Linked DNA regions of Homo sapiens: region 2 is linked to region 1. Evidence: promoter capture Hi-C in 16 types of primary human blood cells and fetal thymus (Javierre and others, 2016). All regions are on one chromosome and are shown on one strand. Each heading gives the region's core, a stretch centred on a gene start or on the middle of the fragment in contact. The rest is flanking DNA. Distances are from core to core; before and after follow the strand shown.

Region 1 (6,341 bases), core at 2,239-4,738:
AGTATCATTAGGAAATGAGTCCCAACTTGTAAAATGATACAACTGCAAAGATAAGTATTACTATAACTTAGGTTGTTTATAATTTGTTGCTAATATACTTGTCCAACAATAGAGTTTTAGTTAAGTAAATCACATTATAATTACTAGAATACAAACAATATGAGTTCTGAAAATTACATAAGATGAAAAATGCTTACTAGGTATTATATGGAAAACACAGAATACTAAAAAAAATTACTTTCCTTTTTTTTTTTTTTTTTTTTTAAGACAGAGTCTCCTTTGTTGCCCAGGCTGGAGTGCAGTGGCATGATCTCAGCTCACTGCAACCTCTGCCTCCTGGGTTCAAGCGATTCTCCTGCCTCAGCCTCCCAAGTAGCTGGGACTACAGGCATGTGCCAACACACCCAGCTAACTTTTGTATTTTTAGTAGAGATGGGGTTTCACCATTTTGGCCAGGCTGGTCTCAAACTCCTGACCTAAGGTGATCCACCTGCCTCAGCCTCCCAAAGTGCTGGGATTACAGGGGCGAACCACTGTGCCCAGCCTGAGAATACTAAAATACTATATGGAGTATGATGAAGGAAAATATGCATAGAAAAAAAGAGAGAGACAAAGGCAACCTGGTTAAATATTCATTGTGGTAGAATTATGTTCAGTGGGTCTGAACTCTCTTCTTGGCTCCCTGATCTTATCCTTTTGGTACCAATTTCCAGTCTTATTTTCTCTCTCCTCAAGCCTCTCCATGCACAGCCAATTCTTTCTTGGCAATGCCTCTTGGGAGCAGTCCAGGCCCACTTCACCTTATACAGGTTTTTGTGAAAAGATTCCTATTTGGCCTGACTGTAGCCTATCTATGGCCAGAATAACACTGTCGTTCTATTGCTGAATACATCTACTGTGTTAATCTGTCCATTTATGTTTTATGCACTTTTATGTATGTGCTACGTTTTTCAATAAAAAGGTTTTTTTTTAACTTTATGTGTTTTCATATTTTGTTTTGTCAAGATAAGGATAAATGGTTTTCTGCTGATTTGCTTCATTATACCTCTAAATGTAATGTTTCATCAGAACAGCTGGGTACCTGTTTGTGACAATGGAGTGAACACAGGCTTTTCTCCCCTTCATGTACAATGTCTACCAGCTCCTACACGTTTACCAATGCAAACTCCGTAACTTCCTGTAAAACCTGGCTTAAAAATTTCCATCATCAAACCTGCCTGATGTGTGCTACCAAAATTTATACTGTATCATCTTCTACATTTATCAAGCAACTACTAGCTGTAAGGCCTGAAGATTTAATGTCCTAAGCTGTTTGCAATCTTTTTGTGCAAAGCAAACATAAAAGATGATAACAAATAGCAGAGAAGGGCATATGTGTTCAAAGTGGGGAAGAGGGAGAGTGGTGAAGAGAGGATGGGAGTGGGCGAGACTGATAAAGGCTAGAAGACACCATGTAAAAATTGGATAGAAGATATTTAACGAATGGGAGAGGAATGGCACGGCACCTTGGAGACCAGGATAATGGCAGGACCCTTAATGGAAATGAGCATCTGGAGCTGTTTTGGGGAAAAGCCGGGCAAGTCCAAGCGGAATATTATAATGTGCACTGACAGACGTTACACTAAAACTGAAGAAGACATGGAAAGCACAGAATCTTAAGCCAGATAAATACAGGTGATAGATGAAGTAACAAAGTCCCAAAAATCTATTTTTCTTAAAAAAAAAAAAAGCGGGGGCAGGGGGAGGGTGTGGGGATCCTAAACTAGTATAAAGACACATAAGAAGGAAAAGAGGGACCTGAGATTGACAGCCTGGTCAACGATGCCTGAAACAGCACGGGACTTCAGAAAATAAGGACGAGCAAACGAACTCTAGGTGAGGCAGTGTAGGACAGTGGTTAACAGCTCCAGTGCTGGAGACAGAACCCCAGAGCTGGAATCTCCTACCGCTGAGATGGGTGTGGCCTTGGGCAAGTTACTTAACCTCTCCGTGCCTCAGTTACCTCATCATTAAAATGAGAATAATATTAATATCTACTTCCCAGGATCGTTGTGAAGATTAAAAGCTTTTACACAAGAACTGACATCAGTGCCTGGCACCTAAGCACTGATAAATGTCTGCCACGGGGTGAGGGGTGGATTTTATTTAGTTCTCGGTGACCTTGGGGAGACCAATTTCTGATCAGTAGTACGAAGAGAAACTACAAAGAAAGGGAATGAATAAGCGGGTGCGTGGTAAGAACGCAGAGGCAGCCACCAGGTATCGATGACCCTTTCGGAGCACGTAAGCAATAAAAGTGAGGAATGAAATAAAGGGTAATCCGAGAGCACAGGGTTAAGTGAACATGCTTTCCGAGGGGAGATCGTAGCAAGAGGGAAAAGACCACTGGCGAGGAACTCGGGTCGCTAAAACTGTTCTTCAGTCGACGCGGGACTAACTACACTGGGAGCAGGACAGGTGTAAAGACCCGCTCCTTCCCGTCCCGAGTTCCCCAGGGAGCTCCAAAGAGCGCTCTGTCCGCACCGGGTGAAGTTTGAAACAGCTCTGACTTGAAGGGGGAAAGCCCATTTCCCAACGAACCTGGGAAAGCCCATTTCCCAACGAACCTGGGAAAGCCCATTTCCCAAAGAACCAACGATACCTGGGACGACAAAACAACAGGCTTTCCTGTTTCCATCTCCGGCACGACCTGTTCCACGGCTCTGTATTCATCAGCCTCCTCCCGGCCAGCAGCAGCCACCAAGACAGGATGCGGCTCGGGGAGCCGAAGGGACAGCGCCCCAAGTTCATCTGGCCGCGGGAGCAAAAAAAGCGCCCAAAGGGGAAGGAAGGAAACAGAAAGAAAGGGGCTCCGGAATTTGGGGGGGTGGCTAGCGAGGCCAGACCCCGGAGCTGGGAAAATGACCTCCGCGTCCAAGGTCGAGCAGGTCCTTCTCCCTCCCAGTCCCGCCGGCGAGCACCTCTGCCCCTCCCGCTCCGCTCCGCAGGGCCAGCGCCGCGCGGGACCCCAGTCCAGGCTCCGCTCCGCAGCGCGCCCACCGGGCCCGACCTTCCCTTCGGGATGCTGCCGGGTGGGGGCTCCCGAGAAGGCGCAGGTGAGCGCCGCGGCCCCGCGCTCCGGCGAAAAGGGCCTCGGTCCTCCCCACGCGCAGGCAGCGGGGACAGAACTTCCCAAGCGCCTCCCGAGCCCAGGGAGGGCCTGGCCCCGCTCCCGGGGCCCCCGCACCCGGGTCCCACTTCTCGCGCGCCGCGCCCAAGTTCCTCCATCCGGCCACTCCCGACGCCGTTCCCCTCGGCTCTGCCTCCCTCCCCAGTCTCTTCTCCTCCGCGCGCCGGGAAAGTTTGGCCCCTGCCCGCCGGCCTGGAACCCCGCACTCACCGCACAGGGAGCGGAGCCGAAGCGCCGGGCGCGCGCGGGAGAGAGGGCGGCGACTGGCAGCGCGAGCGCGGAGCTCCTCACAGCGGCCCCCGCTGTCCCGGCCGCCGACTGGGTTGGAAAGGGGAGGAGGCCGCCGGGTGTCACCTGCCCGCTATCCCACCCAGCCGCGTGACGCGCGCAGCGCCGCCCCCTGCCCGCCGCCGCCAGGTGCCCGCCGAGGGCCGGAGGGAGGAGCCGGGGCGGCGCGAGGGGGAGCGGCCGGGAGGGCGGAGGCCGCCCCGGCCTCGCCTCCGCCGCGCGCCCTGACTCTCGGGACTGGGGCCCACCGGCCGCTCTGGGTTAGCGGGGCTGGTCGTGGCACCGATGACCTTTCTTTCCGAGAGCAGATGCCATCACTTGGGGGACATCTCCAGGCTGACATAGCAGAGTGGAAATTGTCGTCATGCGTGACTCATTTGGGAATGAGCAGTAGAAAAATCCGAAATGAGGAAAACCTAGCTGAGGCTGGAGGCGGAGAAAAAGGGGACTCCTTGCTTCTGAAAGGGTATTGGGAGGGTTAATTCGCATCTGAAATGGAAGCCAGACCAAGAGGAGAAGGCCCTGGGAGGGGAAGGCCGACTTGGTTCAGCTCCATCCCCTGCTTATAAGGAATAAGAAACTAGAGAATTGAGGCAGCCTGGGGGGCATGGGGAGAGGACTTTTAGAGCAATGAAGATTAGATTGTATATCATCTAACTTTGTTTCTGGTAACAGCAACTGCTGCAGGAAAAAAAGTCTAGAAAATTCATTTCTCGTTACCTACTGTTGGATTGGAAAGTGGGGGTGGGGATGAGCGTTCGGAGTGTGCACCTGCGCTTGGTTTATTTATTTTTTAAACGTACCTGGCCTTGTGTCTGGTAATGATCCTCCTAATCGCTGGTATGATTTGGATCATCAATAGCTGAAAGGCAAAATAGGGGCCTAGAGAAGTTCCCTGCTTCTGAGGCAAAACCAAAGGCTGGTGTTGAACTGTCCAGAAACCTAAAAAACAATAATCATTTTTAGTTGCAGTCCTGACCCAACCACCTCACAAATGTGGGCTTTGAGTTTGTATTGCGAGTTCTCAGCATGGAATCAAGAAACACAAAAAGGGGCTGGGAGCGTCAGGACCACCAGAGAGGATGGGTAGGGAGAAAAAAAAAATTGGGGTGTCGGAAGCATATTTTCCTCACATGTAGGGATTGCCTTCGGCAGCTTAATCCCACTACATTAAACAAGAGGTTTTAATGTTTTTATGTAAAACTTCGAAAGTGTCCATTGAAAGAAAAGCAAAAAAAAAAAAAAAAAAAAAAAAAAAAGCTTAAATTGCAAAGAATCTCGAAGTCAAAAAAACTAAAGATTTCTCCTTTCTTTTAGATAACTTTGCTTTCATATTAAAAACAGATCATTTAGTAGACTTAGGAAGTCTTTTGGGAACGGGAGACAATTGCCTAATGATACTAGCCTTTGAGTCTATCACAATTTACCATTTATATATACTTATGAAATTTCAAATATGCAGAAGCTCAAATGGATTCATTTATTTAACAAATACTGGAGTGCTGCTATGTTCCAGGCCCTGAAGTTTCAATAGATAACAAATTCCCCGTTCTCAGGGACTATACGTTCATTCTAGTTGGAGATGACAGACAATACATGAATAAAGAAGTAAAAAAAATGTAGTGTTCAGCCAGGCGCAGTGGCTCACGCTTGTAATCCCAGCACTTTGGGAGGCCGAGGCGGGCAGATCGTGAGGTCAGGAGTTCGAGACCAGACTGTGCAATACAGTGAAACGCCGTCTCTACTAAAAATACAAAAATTAGCCGAGTGTGGTGGTGCGTGCCTGTAGTCCCAACGACTTGGGAGGCTGAGGCAGGAGAGTCGCTTGAACCTGGGAGACAGAGGTTGCAGTGAGCAGAGATCTCGCCACTGCACTCCTCCAGCCTGGGCGACAGAGCTAGACTCTGTCTCAAAAAAAAAAAAGAGGAAAAAAAAGAAAAAAAATGTGATGTTCAGGGTTTGATAAGTGCTATGAAGAAAAATAAAGAAGGGAAGGGGATGGAGACTTTTGGAGGTGGGGAGTTGTGTTAAATGTTAAAGTGGTTAGGGAAGGCCCCAGTGGAAGCAGGCATTTCAGCCCAGATTTTGAACAGGTAAGGTGACACACCTGTGTGCCTATCCAGTAACAGCATTCCACTCAAAGGGAATGGCAAGGCTAAAAGCTCTGGGGGTGTGGTGTGGGATATTCCATTCATAGACCAGCAAAGGGGAGATGTCAGATGAATTTCAGTGAGTGAGGACAGTAAGAAATGAGGTCAAAGAGTTAAGGAAGCATTTTGAGTAAAAAACTGTCATACTTTGACATTTTCAAGAGTATTTTGGCAACTTTTTTGAGAATAGGGCATGGGGTATGGAGGCAGAGAAGAAGGACAGAAGTAAGACGATGATCAGGAGGCTCTTGGGAAATCCAGATGAGAGATAAAGGTGGCTTTGACCAAGTTGGTAGTAGTGAAAGAAGATTTAAAAAAATACATTCTGAAGGTAATATTAACAGGATTTCCTGAGAATTTGATATGGGCTATGAGAGAGAGAAAAAAGAGGTCAAGGATGACTCCAGGGTGTTTGCCTTGGGTAACTCGAAGAAAAAAAATGCCATTTACTGAAAGAAAAAAAAACTGTGAAAGAAAAATGTAGGGAGAAGGGCAGGTCAGGAGTTGTTTGGCATTGCTTTAATTTGAGATACCTGTTACCTATCTAAATGGGAATGAATGTCAAGTAGGTAGTTGATTACACTAGTCTGGAGGTCAAGAAAGAGAGGTCTGGGCTAGCAATATAAATCTGGATGTAGTCAGTTTCCAGATGACACTGAAAGGCATGAGAATGGCTAAGAGCACCAAGAGTGAGAATAGAGAAGAGATTATCCCTCCTTTCCCCATTTGCTAAA
Region 2 (6,341 bases), core at 1,706-4,205, 58 kb before region 1:
AGGCACACCTCTATTTGAAAAGCAATGAAAATATTAGTATTGAAGTTAAATACTGAATTTATGAGAACTACTATAAACCTTCATAAAAGGATGACCCCTAAAGAAACTTGAATGTTCCCTGTATCATTACATAAGTTGAAAAAGTTAGGGTTAGGCATGAGGTGCTCTGTCTTCCCCAGAAACAAAAGGCTAATGGGGTGGGGGATGTTTCATGTACCTTCTTTTTGGCATCAGATTTGGTTTAAGTGTCATGAGTAGAGCCATGATAGAAGCAGAGGATGGGAAGGCAGGCTGTCTGACAGTCTATACCCCAATGATTACCAAAGTTCTGATTTATTACTAGCTTAATAATTCGTTTCTAAGAGTGTCCCAGGGAGAGAGCATAGGGAAAGTAGAATGCCACATACATAGAATATTAATGGGCTTTTCCATCAGCTGCTTCTAAGAGAGTATTCTCTTCTTAAGTAGCAGGTACTGGCTCAAAGAGTACATCTTTAAGATTCCAAGTACTAATGAAATGAAGAAGCTGGAAGGAAAAGCAAACATGTACCTTAAGTACTTTTTGAAGTATTAAAGTTTCAGAATGGCAGCAATCTTACTCATACTCCATCTTCTTGCAAAAAAAGGATCATGACTAAGTCTGAAAAGTCATCATTTCTAATCAAACGCAAGGAAAGCTGTATTTTAAACATTAAAAACTTTTTCATTTCTCCATTATCCAAAATGCTACCATAGCATTATTTCAAACTCTCACATTTCACATCTAAGAATCCAAATAAATCCTCTTATAGCTAAGTATTAATTAAACCATTTTTTCTTCTGTAGCTGTGGAATTTTTCCACATGAAATAACTATGCATGACCACTACTTCTCTAGCAATCAGAAAACCAATGAATATCAGTAAGTTTCCTTACGCTACTCAGGGTTAGGGCTAAAGCCAAGAATACACTTGAAATTCTTGGCCCTTGATCATAAGTTCAGACATTTCCAGGGTAAGCAGACTAAAACTGGACTAAGATGGCCAAAAATGATTCCTAATGGATCTCAGAGATCAATACTACACTAAGTAGAAGGAAAAAACTTTCCTGTTATGCCTGACAGCGTTTTTTATAAAGCTGTATATCTCAAAACAAAACATTTTAACCCTTTTAGACCATGCCTGGGAAAAAAATTATGTAAAGAAAACAATTTTTAAGTATATGCTATATGAAGAGAATTTTCAGATGAAATCTATCATCTGTAACAACCAGCACCACTCTTTTATGTTGGGATACTTCCGAAACAGCAGAGCACTTTCATGTATGTTATCTGGTAGCTGGTAGATGCTATTCTCACTTATGTTTTGCTAATAAAGAAACAAAGACTCACAGCCAATAAATAACGTGTTCAAGATCATCCAGCTGGGCTACAGCAGTGTCAGACCTTAAATCTAGGTCTTTTCACTCCAAATCCCCATATCCTCTCTCCCCTCCCAAGTCTTCAAATGAGCATAACTTCAAATACAAGTATTCCTTGCCTTCTCCCTGCCTCTCTCCCCTCATCTTCCCTGCACCGTTTGCAATGCTGTTGTCAGGACTCCACTCCACATCTAATCTAATTTTACTCAGCAATTTCAATGTAGGTATTCCTAATAAAAATTAAGGAGTTGATCCATGGATAAAAGTGGAAGTGGAATTCTAAAGAAGTTCATATTAAGGCATTTTTAACTTCTAGGACTACATAGATATTTATTATTATCTACATCTATTCAGCTCTTGAGTTAGCATATTGATTATTTGAGTCTCTTGGATTCTTGTATCTGGGATAGTGACTATCAAGAATTGGATACCAAGAGATCTGTTCTTCCAAATAACTCTATTTCAAAAACCCAATCTACTTGGTTCCTAAGTTCAAATACTGAGAGTTCATGTAGCAAGGCACACCTCTCCTTGAAAAGCAATGAAAATATTAGTATTTAAATTAATACTGACTTTATGAGAACTACTGTAAACCTTCAGAGAAGGATGACCCCTAAAGAAACTTGAATATTCTGTGTATCATATATTGGAAAACTAAGAAAAAAAAGTTAAGAAAAGATAGGCATAGTCACTATGTATCCCCTACCACAGTGAAGCTTCTCTCTCTATGAGATACTTACAAAGAACCTTGGCATTCCTCAAAGGAAAAACTGTTGGGAACACTTTTAGTGAGATAAATTTGGTCTTTAGTAGTCTGCTGAGAAAGCTGCAAATGATGAAACAGTGTATCTTTGCTGAAATCGTTGTAAATTTGACTATAATTTCATCTGTGGTAGGTGCCAAGAGGTGTGCATTTCCTTCCTGAATTTGGTAGACTTGCAATTTCTAGTTGATAGGTAAGAATCAACCTAAAGTAGTGATGGTGGTGAGTATGTATAGCTCAATATCTCAAAAATAAACTCAAATGTTAAATACCAGAGTACTACAACTAATAACCAGAACACATAGGTTCTAGTCTTTTCTGCCATCTTGACTTTGAGGTCACATTTCTTCAACTGTAAAATGAGGCATTAGCTTCGATGATATCTAAGATCCATCTCAGTTCTAAGATGCTCTGATTCTTTTTTTTGAAATTTTACTTTTGTTCTGCTTTTAAAACTTTAAAAAATGGTTATAAAAGCAACACAACATATTTGTTGTGATTTAAAAATATGTAGACAAATATAACTACGGAAATAAAAATTACCCATAATCCTACCCAGAGATAACTGCTAAACCCCATGAAAGAAATGTATGGAGTATTTTATAACCTGCTTTCATTTAACATATTTTAAACTTCTTGCTATGGCATTAATGTCTTCTGAAACATTGACTTTTAAAATAAATGGGCAAGGGTAAAAGGCAGGCATATCAGAATCACTCGGAGGTGTCCCAGGCAGTCATTCCCTGGTTTTCCTGTTCCCTGTTCACTCTGACAGGTTCCTGGGGGCTGCAACTCTTTCATTCAAAAGAGTTGGCAGTGGCCGGGCACAGTGGCTCACACCTGTAATCCCAGCACTTTGGGAGGCCAAGGCGGGCGGATCACGAGGTCAGGAGATCAAGACCATCCTAACACAGTGAAACCCCGTCTCTACTAAAAATACAAAAAATTAGCCAGGCATGGTGGTGGGTGCCTGTAGTCCCAGCTACTTGGGAGGCTCAGGCAGAAGAATGGCGTGAACCAGGGAGGCGGAGGTTGCAGGGAGGCGGAGGTTGCAGTGAGCCGAGATTGCACCACTGCACTCCAGCTTGGGCGACAGAGTGAGACTCTGTCTTAAAAAAAAAAAAAAGAGTTGGCATTAACTGTAATTTCCCTCAGGAGCATTAGGGAAGAATCAGGCTGAAGAGCACTGTCCTTCCAAAATCACTTTTAATGGCTACTAAGTTAGAATGAGTCATCATTTATTGATCAGTTCCCTTCACTGGATATCTAGGCTATTTTCCTTACTGTAAACATTGTAATGAACATCTGTGTAGCTCCATCTTTGTACATATCTGTAATGAAACCTGTGCACTTCCTCTTCGTTAACTAGTAATAAGGGACTGTTAAGTTGCAAAGTCTCTCATTCTGTTCCAGTGAAATCCTATTAAATATGAGAATCTGACATAAAAAGGAAGGATGAACCTCAATTAGGAAATGTGGTTACTCACCAGCATCTTTGATCCAATTATCATAAAGATGCACAGTCCTCGATGTAAGATCACTGAAGGCCATTTTCCACAGGATTTACTGGCTCTTTTAATGGGTTCTTCAGTAAAATAAAACAGAAATGAGTTTATAATCTATAAATGCAAATAAAGTCAAGCTTATAGTAATACATTATTTAAAATGCTAAAAATTTAATATGAATAACTGGCAAGACAACAAACTCCCACTGAAGGCAAATGCATAAGTAAATTACTTTAAACCCTGATGCAGTTGCAGACATTTCGGGTTTTCCATCCTTCTAGAGACACTGCTAACATCACTGAAAAAGACTAATATTCTATGTACAAGACTCAAAAGCAGTAAATGACTCTAAGAACTTTCATAGGAGCAGCTCCCTTTTATGCTGACAACATAATTCAGGAACGGACTGCACTTGAAGTGGCAAAGCTAAAGCAGAAACCCTGGAGAAGAAAGTCAAGAGATACACAAACTTTCAGAGAAGATAAACTGATCCTAGACTTAGAGCTCATCTTCAGGCCTCATAAAGTCATCTATATGCAAATTTTTATAATTTAAGTAGAATAGAGACAGAAAGAGGGAAAGGAAGGTCTATAATATCCAAGGAAAAGCTGCTTAGTTTATCTAGACAGATAGACAAGAATAACTGGAGAAAGAAATCTGAAAAAGAAGACCAGTGAGGAGAAACTAGCCTTATTATGTATTAAAAGATATTATAAATCTGCAATAATTAAGACACTGTGGCACTGGCACATGGAGAAACGAACGTAATAGATTAGAATGTTCAGAAATAAACTAAATACACTTGAAAATTGAGAACTATATTTCAGTAACTAAATATTTTAGTAACTAAAATATACCTAAGATGTATATTTTACCGTATTTTAACATCTGTAAAATCAGGACTCACCTTCCAAATGAATGGTATGCCATAAAATTACTGGTATATTTGATTCAAAGCCATGTGGTGGGAACATGTAAAAGTTCTAGAGATGATGGTGGTGATGGCTGCACAACAATGTAAATGTACTTAATGCCACGGAAATTCACACTTTAAAATGGTTAAAGTGGTAACCATTTAAATGAAAATATATATAAAATGGTGAAAATAATAGGTATATTTTACCATGATTTTTAAAAATTGGCCGGGTGCAGTGGCTCACACCTGTAATCCCAGCACTTTGGGAGACCAAGACAGGCAGATCACCTGAGGTCAGGAGTTGGAGACCAGCCTGACCAACATGGTGAAACCCCATCTCTACTAAAAATACAAAAACCAGCTAGGCGTGGTGACGGGTGCCTGTAATCCCAGCTACTCGGGAGGCTGAGGCAGGAAAATTGCTCGAACCCAGGAGGCAGAGGCTGCAGTGAGCAGATTGTGCCACTGCACTCCAGCCTGGTCCAGCCTGGTCCAGCCTGGGCAACAGAGTGAGACTTGGTCTTAAAAAAAAAAATCTTCTAGGGTTCCCACAAGAAAATTCAGACTTTCCTCTGGATTCTAAAGTAAAGCCATTTTACTTACGTAAGTATAGGTAAAATTATATATGGCATATGCTATATGATAAAGGTGGCATCTCCAATGATTGGGCACTGAATTACCAGACATTAATCACTAAATGGTGTGGCACACCTGGACAGCCATCCGAGAAAAAAAGGTTCAATCCAAGTGTTATAATATAAACCAAGATAAACTCCAAATAAAGCAAATATTTAAGTAAGAACAACAGAACCATGAAATCACTAGATGACATAGTAGAAGACTTTTATAACCTTGTAGTGGGAAAGGCCTTACTAACTAAGACCTAAAATTCAGAAGACATAAGAGAAGGCTAACAAATTTAATCATAAATGTCAAACAGTAAAAAATATGTTCAATTCATATCATAGACAACGGCTACTCTCCCTAATATATGACAAGTTTCTAAAATTGATAAAAGACCTTAAGTCAATAGGAAATGGGCAAAGTTCACAGAAAAGGAAATACAAGTGGCACTCAAACATATGAAAAGTTGCTTAACTAATCATATTTAAATAATCTGCAATATTTTTTGTCTATTGAATAGGCCAAAATTCAAACATTTTTTTTATCAAATGGGCCAAAATCCAGACAACCATTAACTGTGTTGGCAGGAGTGTGGGAAATTCTCTCTCTTCATGCATTACTAGTGGAAGTACAAATTAGTGTAACTCTTATTGAGGACAATTTGCCATTATCAGTCAAAATTATAAATGCATACTTTTAACACAGCATTTCTACTTCTAGAAACTTATCCTGTAGAAATACATACACATATTCAGAAGGGCATATATGCAAGTTTATTCATTGCATCAGTAAGAGCAAAAGACTGGAAACAACCCACATGTCTACTAATGGAGAGCTGGTTAATAAGTGATAACAGATTTAACACCATGAAATATTATGACATTGTAAATAAGAATGAAGAACCTCTCCATGTACTGATATGGAAATATTTCCAAGATAAATCACTATTTGAAAAAAGCAAAGAGCTGGGCGCAGTGGCTCACGTCTGTAATCCCAGCAGTTTGGGAGGCTGAGGTGGGCAGATCATCTGAGGTCAGGAGTTCGAGACTAGCCTGGCCAACACGGTGAAACCCTGTTTCTATAAAAATACAAAAATTAGCCGGGCATGGTGGCAGGCGCCTGTAATTCCAGCTAC

The links. Contacts are between HindIII fragments. The CHiCAGO score rates a contact against its expected background, and 5 or more counts as called.
Region 2: a fragment that was not itself captured here is called in contact with the fragment with the promoter of ELOVL7 in region 1 in 1 of 17 cell types (megakaryocytes); the score reaches 5.0 in megakaryocytes.

What each region holds. Positions count from the first base shown.
Region 1 is chr5:60,840,781-60,847,121 of GRCh38, forward strand. It overlaps ELOVL7 (ELOVL fatty acid elongase 7), which reads right to left and starts at 3,489. Exons shown (of 9, transcript NM_024930.3): 1 at 3,380-3,489. RefSeq lists silencers at 3,161-3,220, 3,231-3,390, 3,411-3,710. The HindIII fragment of the contact is 2,652 bases long and covers 2,064-4,715 here.
Region 2 is chr5:60,783,687-60,790,027 of GRCh38, forward strand. ELOVL7 (ELOVL fatty acid elongase 7) reads right to left here. Exons shown (of 9, transcript NM_024930.3): 3 at 3,648-3,745. The coding sequence starts at 3,711. Among named protein-coding and RNA genes, the nearest start is that of ELOVL7, 57 kb to the right of the region's middle. The HindIII fragment of the contact is 1,689 bases long and covers 2,112-3,800 here.